Linked DNA regions of Homo sapiens: region 2 is linked to region 1. Evidence: promoter capture Hi-C in human tissues and cell types (Jung and others, 2019). All regions are on one chromosome and are shown on one strand. The core of a region is centred on a gene start or on the middle of the fragment in contact, and the rest is flanking DNA. Distances in the headings are between cores, read along the strand shown. Region 1 holds the start of CETN1 (centrin 1). Region 2 has its middle 14 kb from the start of MIR8078.

Evidence for each region. Contacts are between HindIII fragments. The study calls those that stand out against the background at their distance.
Region 2: a fragment that was not itself captured here is called in contact with the fragment with the promoter of CETN1 in region 1 in 1 of the 25 tissues and cell types used here (lymphoblastoid cells).

Annotation. Positions count from the first base shown.
Region 1 is chr18:575,546-583,438 of GRCh38, forward strand. It overlaps CETN1 (centrin 1), which reads left to right and starts at 4,835. Exons shown (of 1, transcript NM_004066.3): 1 at 4,835-6,569. The coding sequence starts at 4,864. The coding sequence ends at 5,382. The HindIII fragment of the contact is 12,122 bases long and covers 2,211-7,893 here.
Region 2 is chr18:94,878-102,770 of GRCh38, forward strand. No RefSeq gene overlaps it. Among named protein-coding and RNA genes, the nearest start is that of MIR8078, 14 kb to the right of the region's middle. The HindIII fragment of the contact is 6,681 bases long and covers 86-6,766 here.

The DNA.
Region 1 (7,893 bases), core at 3,585-6,084:
CCCAGAATGGGACCCTGTCTTAGATCCTACAAATTCCTGTTCAATCCTTCTAGGCAAGATGCTTAATTATTGTTATGTGTAGGGAAGAAAATTGTTAGCAGCAGAAGGTATCCGAGTCACGTGGCACCAAAATGTATCACTAGTAGCGAATATCCAAGTTACCTTAATAGAATCCGTATGGGTCTGCAGCAACCTCAATTCCTACATCCTCAGAAGAAAGAATTCAACTCAGGGTCATACGGCAGAAAAAGAGACTGAGGCAAGTTTCAGAGCGTTTATTAAAACGCTTTAGAGCAGGAACATAAGGCAAGTGATACTGGAGACAGAAATTATTTTAAGCAGATAATGAGGGCAAAAGAGTCCTCGGCAGAACTTCCCTGCTAACAAAGAACAGCCCAAGAAATCCCTTCTTTTCTAACAAAGAGCAGCCTGGGAGATCGGGCTGCAAACATAGATAAGGAAGCTGGAAACTTGCACGAGGGGATGCCAGAAGCTGCACAGTTAGAAAGAGGTACCTGGGGCCAGGAATGTCCACCCTGGGGGCTCCACCTCCCCTCTATTTTTAGCACATGCACAGTAAGAAGGAAATAAGCGGCCGGGCCCGGTGGCTCACGCCTGTAATCCCAGCACTCTGGGAGGCCGAGGCAGGCGGATCACAAGGTCAGGAGTTTGAGACCAGCCTGACCAACATGGTGAAACCCCGTCTCCACTAAAAATACAAAAATTAGCCGGGCGTGGTGACGCACACCTGTAATCCCAGCTACTTAGGAGGCTGAAGCAGGAGAATCGCTTGAACCTGGGAGGCGGAGGTTGCAGTGAGCCCAGATCTCACCACTGCACTCCAGCCTGGGTGACAGAGTGAGACTCCTACTCAAAAAAAGAAAGAAAGAGAGAGAGAGAGAGGAAGGAAGGAAGGAAGGAAGGAAGGAAGGAAGGAAGGAAGGAAGGAAGGAAGAAGTAACATGGAGTATCTAGCCACGGGCATAATAAAAGACTGGGGTGGGGGCTGCCAGAGATTCGTGCCCTATGCAGATGGCACACCCGGTCCTAACCAGTTTTTCATGCCCTTTGTAGGTCAGACACCGCCTCCCCACTAGCTCATCTATAAAACCCCCTGCATTTAACCACGGATCGGCAACTCCTTTTCTCGGGACCCTTCTCTGGGGCAGAGAGCTATTCTCCTTCTTTCACCTATTAAAATTCTGCTCGAAACCTCACCCTTTGTGTGTTTCCACATCCTTTACCTCCGTGGCCGTGAGACCGAGAACCTTGGGTGTCACCCCAGGCAACAAGGCCACTTCACAAGTACACCTGGAAGAGAGCCAATGGACGCCCTGGAGGTCAAGTGCCCCGTTTGATCTTGAACCTAGGATTTTATACGCTGGCCTACTTCCCGCATCTTGTGCCCCTTTCCCTTATTCTTCTCTTAAGGTGAACCGCCCACATGCATAGTGCCCTGCTTGGGATTGGGAGGTGAGCATGGGCAGTGTGTTTAAGAAGTTGTATGCGTGATCACCTGAGGCTTTCTTCCCCTTTTCCAGTGGAACGCCCCTAGAAGGTCATACGCTGCCATTTTGTCTCTTAATGCGCATGCTCAAGCCCACTGGCCCAATTCCTGAGATCTTATTGGAAGCTGCCGACTACCAATTTCAAGTGTATTCATCTGTTGGGAAACTGCCTCTCCCTGTTGTGGCCATGATCAATGATCATTTTAGAGAGGCAGTGTGACAACTGCCAAACCATCCCCTGATCATCACCTGACATTCCTGGCGGGTTGGGAGGGGAGCCCTTCTCTGCCCCGCTCATGCCTGACTAGCTACCTACTGTAACAAAATCTGTATCATGTCTTCCCAGTGATTCTATATTTTGGTAATATAGAATCAACTTGTGGAGAAGGCAGCATGATGTAGTGAACAAAGCTTCAGCAGGCCAGGATTTAAATCCCAGAGCCACCATTTATTGGCCATGTACCATTAAATATGTGTTACAGGCCTCTCCTGGGCCTCATTTTTTTCATCTGCAAAATAGGAAATGATGGCAAGGATCAAATAAGATGACAACTATGAGAAGCACGCCCAAAGCTAGGCACACATTAAATGTGTTTCCCTTCCCTTCTTAAGTCAGAGTTTGGACTCTGAACATAATGTAACTCCCCACCAAGAGCTGACTGTGACTATGGGCACTGTTTCTATGAAGGGAGCTCTTGGTGGCCCTTTGTTGTAACTGTTGATTGCACACATCTGGAAACCATGACAACCGTTTTGCTTTTAGTTCAGCTTGGCCCAAATGTAGCTCTATATAAGGCAGCTTCCATACTTCAGTTTTTCCCAACACATCATAGCTTGGCTTGAATTTGGGCAGAAGGGTGGGTGCCAAAGGAAATGTACAATGTCTGAGAAAAATTCTTATTCAACTAACAATTACCCAGATCTGTATGGCCCCACTAGGGCACTGTTCCTGGAGCTTTTGTGTACATTCTCCCACTGAAAATGCAGTGGGAAGCTTTATGATGATGCCTACTTTGCAGGTGTTTCGATGACTCTGGGTGGTTTAAGTGACTTTCCAAAGTCACAGAGATAATAAGGCATAGACTTGGGATAAGATCCCAGGCTTCTGACATGGAAAAAAGCAGGTCACAAGGATTTGCGGTGTTAGAAGAACAGCAGCTGTAGTGTCTGCCTGCCAGTGTGCCTTGAGTTGACACTGTCCACAACAAGTACTGGAAGGCAGGAGAGGGGAGGTCCTATGTAAGTTTCCTTGGCCTTTAGAAGAAACCCTGTGTCCAGGCTCTCTGTCAACTAAGTCACATATCGAACTGGGGCAGGTAGTGATATATGGCTAATTAAATGTGCCATGTAAACAATATCTGACCACTAATTTTAAAAAACAGTTTGTAAAACATTCCTGGCATCATTTAATCTTTTGGGGTTTTCACTTGTTGTATTCAGAAGGTATTTTAGGACCAACCTTAATTGTCATGCATTCATTCAACGAATATTTATTAACCTACCTACTGTGTTGTATCCAGCACTGTTTTGTTTTGTTGTTGTTTGTTTTTTTGGGGACAGAATCTCACTCTGTTGCCTAGGGTGGAGTGCAGGGGCACAATATCTGCTCACTGCAACCTCCGCCTCCTGGGTTCAAGCGATTCCCGTGCCTCATACTCCCAAGTAGCTGGGATTACAGTTGTGCGCAGCAACTCTCAGCTAATTTTCGTATTTTTCATAGAGACAGGGTTTCACCTTGTTGGCCAGGCTGGTCTTGAACTCCTGACCTCAGGTGATCCTCCCGCCTTGGCCTCCCAAATTACTGGGATTACAGGTGTGACCCACTGCACCCAGCCATAAAACTCTTTAACACAAACTCTTCAAAGTGACATCTTTTGTAACCTTCATAGGTTACAAAAGGTATTGATATATTAATAGATTGAGATTTGATTGCGGGGGGGCGGGGCAGGGGGAGAATGCTAAAAAAATAAGTCAGCTTTCTTTTCTGTAACTATTTAAAAGAATGCAAAGTAATTCTACAGGCAATTCCTTGGTGGGCTTATTTGGTAATTTTTTTTTTCTTTTCCATTTTCCTCTTGCTCTTTGGTTTGTAGGAGAACCGCTTTATTCCCAGGAGGCAATTTTGAGTCCCAACATGTCCTGCATCATCTCCTGTGCCCATTGCCAAAGGAAGGCGACCAGAGCGTGGGTTTCAGCACAGCTCTGATTGGATGATAAGCAAGGAGAGTAATGTGCTGCTAGGAGGTTAGAGAAAAGAAAATACTAGAATATACCAGAATGTAGTATTTCCACTTCCCTCCCTCCAAATCAAAAGCCTCATGAATGAAATTATGACCATTATTCAAGTGCAATTATACTGAGTATGTAAAATGGAAACACTGAAAGTAAATCATACATTTGGATATTACATTTCATATTTGAGAACATGCCAGAAACATTGTATTATTGTTGAGTGTAATGTCAGGAGACAAACTTCTACGCATTTTATACATAAATTTTTCCATTTTCTCTGTTTCCCATTTATGTCAAGTTGAACACATGGTATGACTTTTAATATTCTCTCTTCCTTCTCCTTCCCCACATTGAATGTCAAGTGATCACACTCAATCTTGATTATCCTAAATTTACCCTTAGGACCTGTCACCTCATTGGGTGTTGCCGCTAGAACAAGAGGGTTTTTTAAATGGTATAAAAAGGAGAGGCCCGGCTTGGTAGCTCATGCCTGTAATTCTAGCACTTTGGGAGGCTGGGGCGGGAAATCCCTTGATCCCAGGAGTTTCAGACCAGCCTGGGCAACATGGTGAGACTCTGTCTCTATAAAAAAAAAAATTTTTTTTTTTAATTTAGCTGGGTGTGGTGGCATGCCCTGTAGTCTCAGCTACTATGGAGGCTGAGGTGGGAGGATCACTTGATCCTGGAAGGTGGAGGCTGCAGTAAGCTGAGTGGCACCAGTGCACTCCTGTCAAAAGAGAGAGAGGAGAGAGAGAGAGAGAGAGAGGAAGAGTCCCTAAAGAAACCTATAAAACTGGGGTCTTATGGATGCTAGCACATATCTTGGAAAGAACTGCCAGCGCCAGTGGATTACAGAAGACAACTGTGGCTACAGGCTGTTCTTGCCAGCTCAGGCGTCAACTCGTGGAAACCGGTTAATGACCCGAGGGGACAGCGGATTCTCGCCTAAGCAAGATCCCGCAGATGGGAGGGCGTAGGAAGAGGTTCCCCGGGCCGGCTCCAGGCCCCAGCGGGCGTGGGCGTTGGCAGTGAGCGAGGGGTGGTCCCGCGCCGCGCCGGCGGGGGGCGCCCGAATGAGAGCGCGGGGCGGTGCCGTTGGGACCACGGCGGCCAGAGCGGCAGGATGGCTTCCGGCTTCAAGAAGCCCAGCGCTGCCTCCACCGGCCAAAAGAGAAAGGTGGCACCTAAGCCCGAGCTCACTGAGGATCAGAAGCAAGAAGTTCGGGAAGCATTTGACCTCTTCGACGTGGACGGAAGTGGGACCATCGACGCGAAGGAGCTGAAGGTGGCCATGAGAGCGCTGGGCTTCGAACCCAGGAAGGAAGAGATGAAGAAAATGATCTCCGAGGTGGACAGGGAAGGCACGGGGAAGATCAGCTTCAATGACTTCCTGGCCGTGATGACGCAGAAGATGTCCGAGAAGGACACCAAAGAAGAAATCCTGAAGGCCTTCAGGCTCTTTGATGACGATGAGACCGGGAAGATCTCGTTCAAAAACCTGAAGCGTGTGGCCAACGAGCTGGGGGAGAACCTCACGGATGAGGAGCTGCAGGAGATGATCGACGAAGCTGATCGGGATGGGGACGGCGAAGTGAACGAGGAGGAGTTCCTTCGGATCATGAAGAAGACCAGCCTTTACTGAAGTCGGTTCAGAAGCTAAAGTGACTCTCTGGGTTGCCTGCTTCCATTTTGTGAAACCTTAGAGGACAGCGGCTGCCTGTCCCTTCTTCACCCCCTCACCCCCATAATTTGTCTAGATCTATTTCCATATCTCTAGTTCAATAATAGAATTTGAAAGATGCTTGTAATGTGAGTTTTGGGTTTTAATTCTCAAGAGTCAACCTGGAGCACATGAGGTTAAACAAAGGGCCCTGAAGTTTGAGTGCGCCCTCCATTTGCCCTGTGCTGAACTTGCTGTTCATCTGTTGATCTGGAGGCAGGACAGCTTCTGGGACACACAAAAATGTGGTTCCCTTTGTCACTTCTTTGGTGGTCTTAAATTATCTTGCTTCATATATCATTCCTTAAATTCCAGTCATTGTTCCAGCATAATGAGATGGAATCTGCCAGTAGATTTGCCTAGCCTGTCCACTTAGCTGAATACCAGTTTGAAGGAAAACAGGGTGGCCACTTACAAACTTACGGAGCTCAGGACAGATAATCTTATAAAGAATAGACTTGCTTGGGTGGTAGTACGTTGTGCAATTTTGACTATTCACTGGCTTTATACCTGCAAATGATTCTTCGTTCATGTGTAAATTGTCCACCATGGGTTTATCTAGGGCTAGTATGTATACCTGGGCTACAGAATAAAAATAAAATCTAATACTGGCCCAAGCAAAGTATAATTTGCTTAAGAGGTTACGCTAACAAACGATTTTGAGTAAATATTTACAAATGTAGGATCTTAGTTTAGGAAATTATAACAAATACCTTAATATAACATTTTAAGCTACTTATAGTCCTTGGAAATAGCAACAAATATCTTAGTTATTGGACTATTATAACCTTAGTCATCTTATTACTGCTTGATTATGAGACACTCTCCCTGCTAATCCTTAGAACATCTTGGTTCTTGGTACTTGACTTTTAGCCCCTCTGACATATAGTTGATGTCAGAGTGTCTGGCATTTCAGTAGTGCTCTATTTTACAAATCCCAGTAAACTGCTCCACTGTGGCTTGTTTATGTGTTAATACTGCTTGTTTTCTGTTATAAATTATTTTTTGCTTTGGAGTAAGATATCATCATTTTGCATAGCTACAAATCTGAAGTTAAAGAAAATTTTAAAAATGTAATTGTGGGAAAATAACAAATAGATCTGCTGAGATGGAGGCTTTGACTAATGTTTTAATAACAGGCAACAAAACAAAGAGGCAGGATATTTTGGTCACAACTAAACCTAAATTAAATCCTCATACAAAGCCCCATTAAGATAAATGCTCAAATTCTGGGAACATTTCACTTGCTTTGCCAGCAATTTTACCCTTCAGAGGGTGTGGATCTAATCAGGGGAACAAACTACCCTGGGCTTAATTCTCATTAACAGGGACTAATTTGTCAAAGCGGCAGTACTAGCTGAAGTGATGGGTATGGAAGCATTCACTGTGAGGATTTTGCTGAGGTGCCTGGCACAGGGTAGGGGAACTCACCCAGGCTGCAAGATGCTAACAGTTCAGGTTCAAGGTCTTAGTGTGGACTAAGGTGCAGTCAGGATGGGAACAGGTGCAACTTGGGCCAACATCAGTATGAAGGGCCTGATCTGAGGGCAGGGGAAGGAGGGGGCATTCTGGGAAGCAAGAGTTCCTGGTATCCTGTTGACCAGAGTCTTGGCCCAAGGATCAACGTATGAATTAAAGTAGAAATACCAGAAACAAAGAAAGTTGGCAGAAACTAGGAGAAGCAGAGTCTCAGCCAACTGGACTGGGCTCAGCCTTGGCTACTGGCCCGGCAGATGATAGAAGAGAAAACCAGGAACCCAGGCTGAAGCCCAGTGGTTGGGCTGGCCACACACCATGCATAGCCTTAAAGGGGTGGCCTAAGGGCATGGTCCGCTCCAAAAAAGGAAAGGGGGCCCCAGAATATTTCTGAATCCCACTCACTGCCAGGGAAGAACCTCTCAATTCACTCAATAGTGCATTCTCCTGCTTCTCAATAGGCTAATACTCTAGAGAATATGGGGACAAGGGGAGGAGGGTCTAGTGGAACAGGTCTAAACTGGCGTTTGAATTTTAAGATAAGTTAATCATACATTGGCTGGGTCAGCCATGTCTCTTAGTCTTTACAAAAGTAGAACACAAAAAAATTCAATGGAAATCTACAGACACCTATTTGCAGATGAGGAAACACGGCTATGAAGATTGGGAAGATTGGGAAGAACTGGCCAGGTGTGGTGGCTCACGCCTGTAATCCCAGCACTTTGGGAGGCCGAGGCTGGTGGATCACTTGAGGTCAGGAGTTGGAGACCAGCCTGGGCAACATAGTAAAACCCTGTCTCTACTCAAATTACAAAAATCAGCAGGGCGTTGTGGTGCCCACCTGTAATCCCAGCTATGCAGGAGGCTGAGGCAGGACAATCACTTGAACCTGGTAGGCGGAGGTTGCAGTGAGCCAAAATCACGCCACTGTACTCCAGCCTGGGTGACAGAGCAAGA
Region 2 (7,893 bases), core at 2,176-4,675, 480 kb before region 1:
GTGGCAGGCGCCTGTAATCCCAACTACTCAGTAGGCTGAGGCAGGATAATCACTTGAACCCGGGAGGTGGAGGTGGCAGTGAGCTGAGATCACACCACTGCACTCCAGCCTGGGCGACAGAGCCAGACTCCATCTCAAAAAAAATAAAAAATAAAAAGCAAACATGAGTGTTTAAACCTGAAATTTTTTGCAACTGGTATATGTGTGATATACACACACATACACACACACAGGGCTGGAGAATATAGTAAGATAATATTCTGTCCAGTAAACTCTTATGAAATTTCAATGATCAATTGTGCCCTCTGCCTTTCATTCTGTGTTGAGCTTTTATTTTTCTTTACTGATTATCCCAAATATGGACTCTGCTTTTATGTATCTATTTCCTTGATTTATAAATTAAGGGTGATTCTCACATATGATCTACCAAACATTTTTTTTTTGGTCTAAAAAAATCACGTCAGAACATTTGTGTTGTTAGACATCATAACCGCTGTGACTTGAAGGATCTAGGTAGACAGAATCTTAAGAGTATTTGATAAGAGGGTGTTGGATGTGCATAGAGTTCCCAAGACCCCCGAGAGCCTGCTGTGTCCCTGCAGGTGGAGGCCGCAACGCAGGCAGCTGGGCTGGGCTGGGCGGGTGGGCAGCAGGTGGGAGCGCTCAGGGACTGGGGGCCAGGTCAGTTGTGCAACCCCTGTTCTGAGGCCAGTGGGAAACCATCGTTAAAGTTAAATAAGAAGAGTGATGGGATGAGACTTGTTTGTAAAGGAGAGTTTTGTCACAATCACCCTGAGGTCTCTGTGGGGTGTGGGTGGGTCTGTGCTCCTCCGGGGAACTCGCTGTGCGGAGCACTGCCGGAGGCTGCGAGTTCCCACCTGGAGTGCGGCGTCTGCATCTGCCCAGGGGGAACCGCTGTGCAGACCCAGGCTGGGGGCAGCTCTGCTCTTCAACTCTGCGAAGGCTCCAGAAAAGGAAAACTGGACCCAGATGGAAAGAGACATTTTCCACCCAGCCGGGGTGGCTGCGAAGTGAAACGGGCCTGCGGACACGACCCTCAGGTAGAAACGTGGCCTCCTGCGCTGGGGTCACCTGGCGCTTACCTGGGAGGGGTCCCTGTTTTGGGTGAAAAACACTGGGGTGTTTTCTGTGAGATGCAGATCTGGCTCAGCAACAACCGCTGAGGAATCTGAGAGAAAAGAGAAAGAAAACTCCACACTACCGTTGCAAGTTTCCTGAAAGTATGGAATTATTGGGAAGTAAGCTACTTTTTAAAACAACTGTGTCAATTCCACGCCCGTGAAGCAGATACGACAACAAGCTCCACTGTGGAGGCCAAGCCCGAGGCAGCTCCAGCTCAGCAGCAGCTGTGAGCAGCTGGAGGCTACGTTAGTTTTGATTATGTCAGTGTTGATTATTGTGAGCGGGGACTGCGGGGCCGTGTGGGGAGCACGGGGTTTCATATTAACATTTTTGTATTGAGGCAGCGCATTAGCATTACAGGTGTTTGTTACCTGAGCACTGCGAGTGTCACATTCGTATTTCGGGAGGCATATCTGCATTAGGAACGCTCCATTTGTGTTCCAAGGCCGCGGTGTAGACCTCGCACTGCGCCCGCCTCGCCTTGGGTGGGGAGAACCTCAGTGCTCAGGATTCGGAGGGGCTTTTGGTTTCCAGTTTCCCACACCGACCCCGCTTACTGGTCTCTAACCCTCAGTAGTCAGGGCTGCAAACAGGAAGGATTTTACTCACCATGGCCTCGAGTTGTCCCAAAGCGAGGCGGTGCCCCCCGGGTCTGTGCCGAGGAGGACGCGGGCTTCACCCTCGCTTCGGCCCGGTGTGGACGCCCTGCTGGCGGCCGGGGGCACTGCAGGGCCCTCTTGCTCACGGTGTCATGGCCTTGCGCCCCCTGCTGGCGGCCTGGGCACTGCAGGGCCCTCTTGCTCACGGTGTCATGGCCTTGCGCCCCCTGCTGGCGGCCTGGGCACTGCAGGGCCCTCTTGCTCACGGTGTCATGGCCTTGCGCCCCCTGCTGGCGGCCGGGGGCACTGCAGGGCCCTCTTGCTCACGGTGTCATGGCCTTGCGCCCCCTGCTGGCGGCCTGGGCACTGCAGGGCCCTCTTGCTCACGGTGTCATGGCCTTGCGCCCCCTGCTGGCGGCCAGGGCACTGCAGGGCCCTCTTGCTCACGGTGTCATGGCCTTGCGCCCCCTGCTGGCGGCCGGGGGCACTGCAGGGCCCTCTTGCTCACGGTGTCATGGCCTTGCGCCCCCTGCTGGCGGCCAGGGCACTGCAGGGCCCTCTTGCTCACGGTGTCATGGCCTTGCGCCCCCTGCTGGCGGCCGGGGGCACTGCAGGGCCCTCTTGCTCACGGTGTCATGGCCTTGCGCCCCCTGCTGGCGGCCGGGGGCACTGCAGGGCCCTCTTGCTCACGGTGTCATGGCCTTGCGCCCCCTGCTGGCGGCCGGGGGCACTTCAGGGCCCTCTTGTTCACGGTGTCATGGCCTTGCGCCCCCTGCTGGCGGCCGGGGGCACTGCAGGGCCCTCTTGCTCACGGTGTCATGGCCTTGCGCCCCCTGCTGGCGGCCAGGGCACTGCAGGGCCCTCTTGCTCCCAGTGTAGTGGCGGCACGCACCCTGCTGGCGGCTGGAGACACTGCAGGGCCCTCTTGCTGCCACAGCCACCTGGCATTGAACAGCGACAGTGTGGCCAGCACTGTGCTAAGCTCATCTCGGTCATTCTCTCACCACATCCTCCAACGAGCCCGTGAGGCCCAGAGAGGTTAGGCGAGTTGCCAGTGGTCACACAGCCGATAGCGGCCAGGCTGGAACTTGGACTCAGGCTCCCAAGTCTCACCCACCAGCATGTGCTGCCTCTGAAGAGTTTGGGATTCCCCTTCAGGGCAACTGGGAGCCACGAGGGATTTTTAAGGGGGGTGGGTAGCACGGTCTCAGTGCCCTAAATCCCCAAGTCACGTTCGTGGAGAACCCGCTGCGTCCACCTGGGAGACGTGGCTGGTCTGTTTTCAGGGTCTGACCCTGCTGGCCTCTTCCTACACCACTTAAAGTTGGAGTGCAGGTTGTTCAGCACTATCAATTCTGCAAATTCAAACTGAAATGGAGCTAATACTGGGGAGACCTGATGTCCCAGTTCTTGTCTAACTTGAAAGAAAGATTCTCACCAAGAGGCAGTACAAAGATGGCAGATAACTTCATTGAAAAGAAATATAGTGTAAAGAGCTTATTGTAGAAAAAATAAGTATGCCTCAAGGGAGAAGTGGGGCTGATCTGCAGGAACACAGCCCCAGGGTCCTGAGCAGGGAGTTTTATGTTGGACTTCTTCACATTCCTCAAGTCTCCACCTCTTTTCTTTGTCTGGTTTTCCTGCTCCTTCCTTAGATCCCTGACTTGCCCCGCCTAGGCTTGTGGGACCCCCTCACTGTTGGCTGACACATATGTGCAGTGATCAGTGTGATTCCACTGCTGGGGCTGGGCTCCTTCCTGCCACTCCAGGAAGGTCCTACAGTGGTCATGTCTGTACCTACTGTGCCTGCCTATCTCTTTCGAATGTCCTTCTCTGCCCTAATCTGTACTTATGGTGCCAGGTTTCTCTTAAGAATGTCCCCTTTGTCCTTATCAGCATGTAGCTAGCAATATCCTAACATTTTAACAGCAGAGTGAATGATTATTGGGGCATCTTAAGAGGAGCTCTGTGCCCCAAACTCACACAGCCTCCCAGAACCTCCTCTACCCAACCCCAACCCTAACCCACCACTGTAATCTTAACCAATCCTAACCCTGATCCCCAGGGAAGTTGAATCTGCCTCCTCCTGCCAAGTGCCTCCCTTGATCCTCACCACACTCTCAAAACCTGATCCCTAACCCTAACCCGAACCCTAACCCGAACCCTAACCCTAAGCTCAAATTTAGTTGAGCTTCTATGGAATTATGTCTATGTAGCTAGGCATGAAGTTGATGATTTTTAAAAAATCTATGCCTTATTTGTGTAATAAAATACACAATAAATAATTAATGCTCATAGGAAAACATGTTAGACCTTGTGAAGGGAAAATAAATCTTGGGGACCCAAAATCGCTAAGCTAAAGGGAAAAGTCAAGCTGGGAACTGCTTAGGGCAAATCTGCCTCCCATTCTATCCAAAGTCACACATCTGCTCACGGAGATAAATGCATAGCTGATTGCCTCATTTGGAGAGGGTAATCAGCAAAGCAAAAGAATGAAACCATTTGTCTCTTACCTACCTATGATCTGGAAGCCCCCTATCTGGCCTTCTCACCTTTCTGGACTGAACTAATGTACACCTTACATATATTGATTGATGTCTCATGTCTCCCTAAAGTGTATAAAGTGTATAAAACCAAGCTGTGCCTCGACCACCTTGGGCCCATGTTGTCAGGACCTCCTGAGGAGGCATCACGGGGGCTCCACTGCAAACTTGGCAAAATAAACTTTCTAAAAAATCTGAGAGCTGTCTCAGATTTTCAGGGCTCATACATGTAATGTAGTATGTCAATGTTTATAAAACAGACATTATTCTGTCTACTATTACAACTATGCTGCAATTAACCTTAGACTTTCCCAACAAAATAAAAAATGATGAGGTACAAACAATATATTTAAACTTAAATAATGGTGCAAGTTTTAATATGCCTACTTTTCAATTTTTCAATACTATTTTTACTACTTTAACACTGTAAGAAAAATGAGCAATTAAAACATGAATAAAAGTGTTTACAGGGGGTGCACGTGTTTCCTCCAGCCTCTGCCCATCCCCAGCTTTCATCCCAACTGTCCTGATGGTGGCTCTAAGCATTTCCCCTGTCTCTATACCAAGATCTCTTCCCAGAAACAAGCCCAAATCTTACCATATGTTATGGCACGCTATGGTGATGAGCTGCGATGAGCAGCCGAAGCCTCAAGGAAGGGATGCTTTTGTAAAACAAGACTTGTAGAATAAAACGTGTGAAAGTAAAGCCCATGGCAGAGTTCCCTCCTCAGCACACGGGGAGCAGACAGGAAGCTTTTGCCTCACCTTCCTCAATGGCCTGCAGCCACGTCTCCCAGGTCAGTCTTAAGGACAACGAAACTCTGGTCTTCACTGTGGACACGCCACACTACCAGGTGCTCCAAAGCCATGGTGACCCATCCTCGGGTGGGTCCTGACGAGAACAAAGCTCTGGTTCTAATTCTAACCCTAACCCTGTCCCAAGACTTTGACCCTGAACCTAAACCCTGATCCCTACCCTGGTCCCTAATTCTGACCCTTACTTTGACCCTGACTTTGATCTCGACCCTGACCATGACCCCACCTCTAACCATACTTCTGGCCCTGACTCTGACCCAGATCCTAATCCTATCCCTAACCCTATTATTATCTTTACAATCTATGTCTAATCTTACTGTCTAGTGCTAAATAGCTGTACCCAAAAGCACTTTTAAATCCTTTAACTTCTTTTCCTTGAATTCTCTAAGGACATCTTAAAGGAGATGTCATTATGTATTTTGCATTCCCTCTGAGTGGTATGGCTTCACATATGAAGTTCTAATACTTTGCAAGACATAAAATGTTTGGAGGGTAACAGCACTGGGTTGTTAGGGATGTATGTTGGCATTCATGATAGTCATTGGTGCTGTTCTCCAAATATTTTCAGTCCATTTTTTTATGAATGCATTCTGACTGTTCCATCCCACCTACTTAAATTTTTCCATGGCCACATGACTTTTCTATTTTTATTTTTATTTTATTTTTTGCTAATGGAGGTGAGAAGAAATAACATGTGACTTTTTCAGGAGAAATCTCCAAGAAACAGAGTTCTACTCTGCATGCTTTTTTCTCTTTTCTATAGCAATGGGGATCTTATTGATGATCCCTCCTTCCATCTGGATTCCTGTGTTAGGATGACACAGCACAGAGATATCTCTCACCTGACCCGTGATGAGATGTAAATAAATGAGGAAGAAGATTTTTGAGCCACTGAAATTTGGAGGTTGTTTGTCACCACAGTTTAACCTAGCCCCCATTGACTGATGCATGGCTGAAGAATGAGTCTCAACTGGATCTGGACAAGATATGTGAAGAGCACGCCAGGCTGAGTAAAATTCAAGTGTTGTCTCAAAGATAACAGTGAGCACAATATGTTATTGGGGTGTGTGTGGGATAAATAAGGTATATCAGGTGAGAATAATAAGAAACTCAACTTTAAAAGACGGTGCTGATTTGGACTGTGGAGAGATTCAAATGTCCTGCTTAGCATTTGAGATTGTGATGGATGAACAAACTAATTAAGAGCCCAAATTGAAAGTTTGGGATAAATATCTGAGTGTGTCTAATATCCCAATTTTTCATCCTAGAATGGGCAGAGTCCTTGACCCCATTCTAGGGAGACGTCCAAAAGAAAAAAGACCTGCATTTCTTCAGCAACCCACACTGAGAGACTTTCCTGTACTTTTGACCTGTGGCTAACACTCCTCACCTTTCATTCTGTCATCAGTGTTTTGGGGAAGCACCTTTATCTCTCTGATTTACAGGCTATTAAGTGGCCCTTACAATTCCCTCCAGAGATGGAAAAGACATGATGATGGTGTCTGAGCTCACAGCAGCAAGCAGGCACGTGTGCTCAGAAGCCACATGGCTCATCTGCTAGGAGCTTGCTAAATACGATGTTCTACAACATTGCCTAACACAAGGGGAGACGCTCCTGACTCACAGTGTTTAATTGCTCATCTACTTCATTTTCTGCCCTCTTGGGCTTATAAAATGAAAAGAACCCTGGGGTGATACAGTGAATCAAAGGGGTGCCAGCCGCATCACAGCAAAATAGATTCCTAAAAAATCCCTGGCCTAAGATGACAGCCTTGGCTGGATACGTTTGAATGTGCTCATAGTGGATATGGTAGAATGAAGGTGGTTGAAATGTTCATATTAAAGAACTTCCACCCAGATTGCAAAAAAAGAGAGAGGAATGGAGATGGCAGCACGAGTCCCTACATAAAAGCAGATGTTTTGAGATCAGTTATATTTCTTCTGACAAAAATTGAAGACAGAAACGAAAGTTTAGCCTGAGACTACAATTAATTGGGCAATAAGCCAGAGGCACATATGGCATAGACAGATTTAAACATTTCTCCCTTATATTAATACAAATACTAAAATTACAAATACTTTGATTCCAAATAAAACAAATATTTAAAAAATTTAATGAATAAATACTGGGGTCTACAGTAGTATTTGAAGGAGATCTCACAAACAGGTTTGGTTTTTGAAGGTTAGAACTAGTGGTCTGGAGAATTCATTTCATTCCGAGACAGAAAGAGAGGAATTTCTTGGGTTCCTTCAGGAATGCGTCTAGTTTTGCCTCATCTTTGTTTGAACTATAGATACAGCAGAAGAAAACGTGAGGATTTCACAGATTTAAGGTGCAAAAAGTCACTGGGTTCTCTAAGAAGTCTGGGATTCTTCTGCTGGAAAAATAAGTTTGTTGAGAAAAAATGAGTTGGAGGAGGCTGTTATTGAAGTGAAGCAGAATTGTTTTTACTAATCTGCTTATTACCCACTCTGTAATGTGGAAACAAATTATTCACTCACAAGGTCCTCTTACTGTTCCCAGAATGCAGTGGAAAGAGAACAGATTAGTTTTCCTCCCTCAGAACACAACCCCTAGAAACATCCTACCTCAGATGAGATATTGCCTAATTATTTTCAAAAGACAGTGAAAAATCTTGGAAGTAAATGTTTGCTGCAAAATAAATACATGCTAGAAACAGAAGCATCTGGGACACAGCTATATTAGAGCTACCTGTGTTCCCCTGTCACTGAGATTAAAACAAAAATGTCCAATACAATCATTCACAGCATGGGAAAGGGGAAGTTGAAGG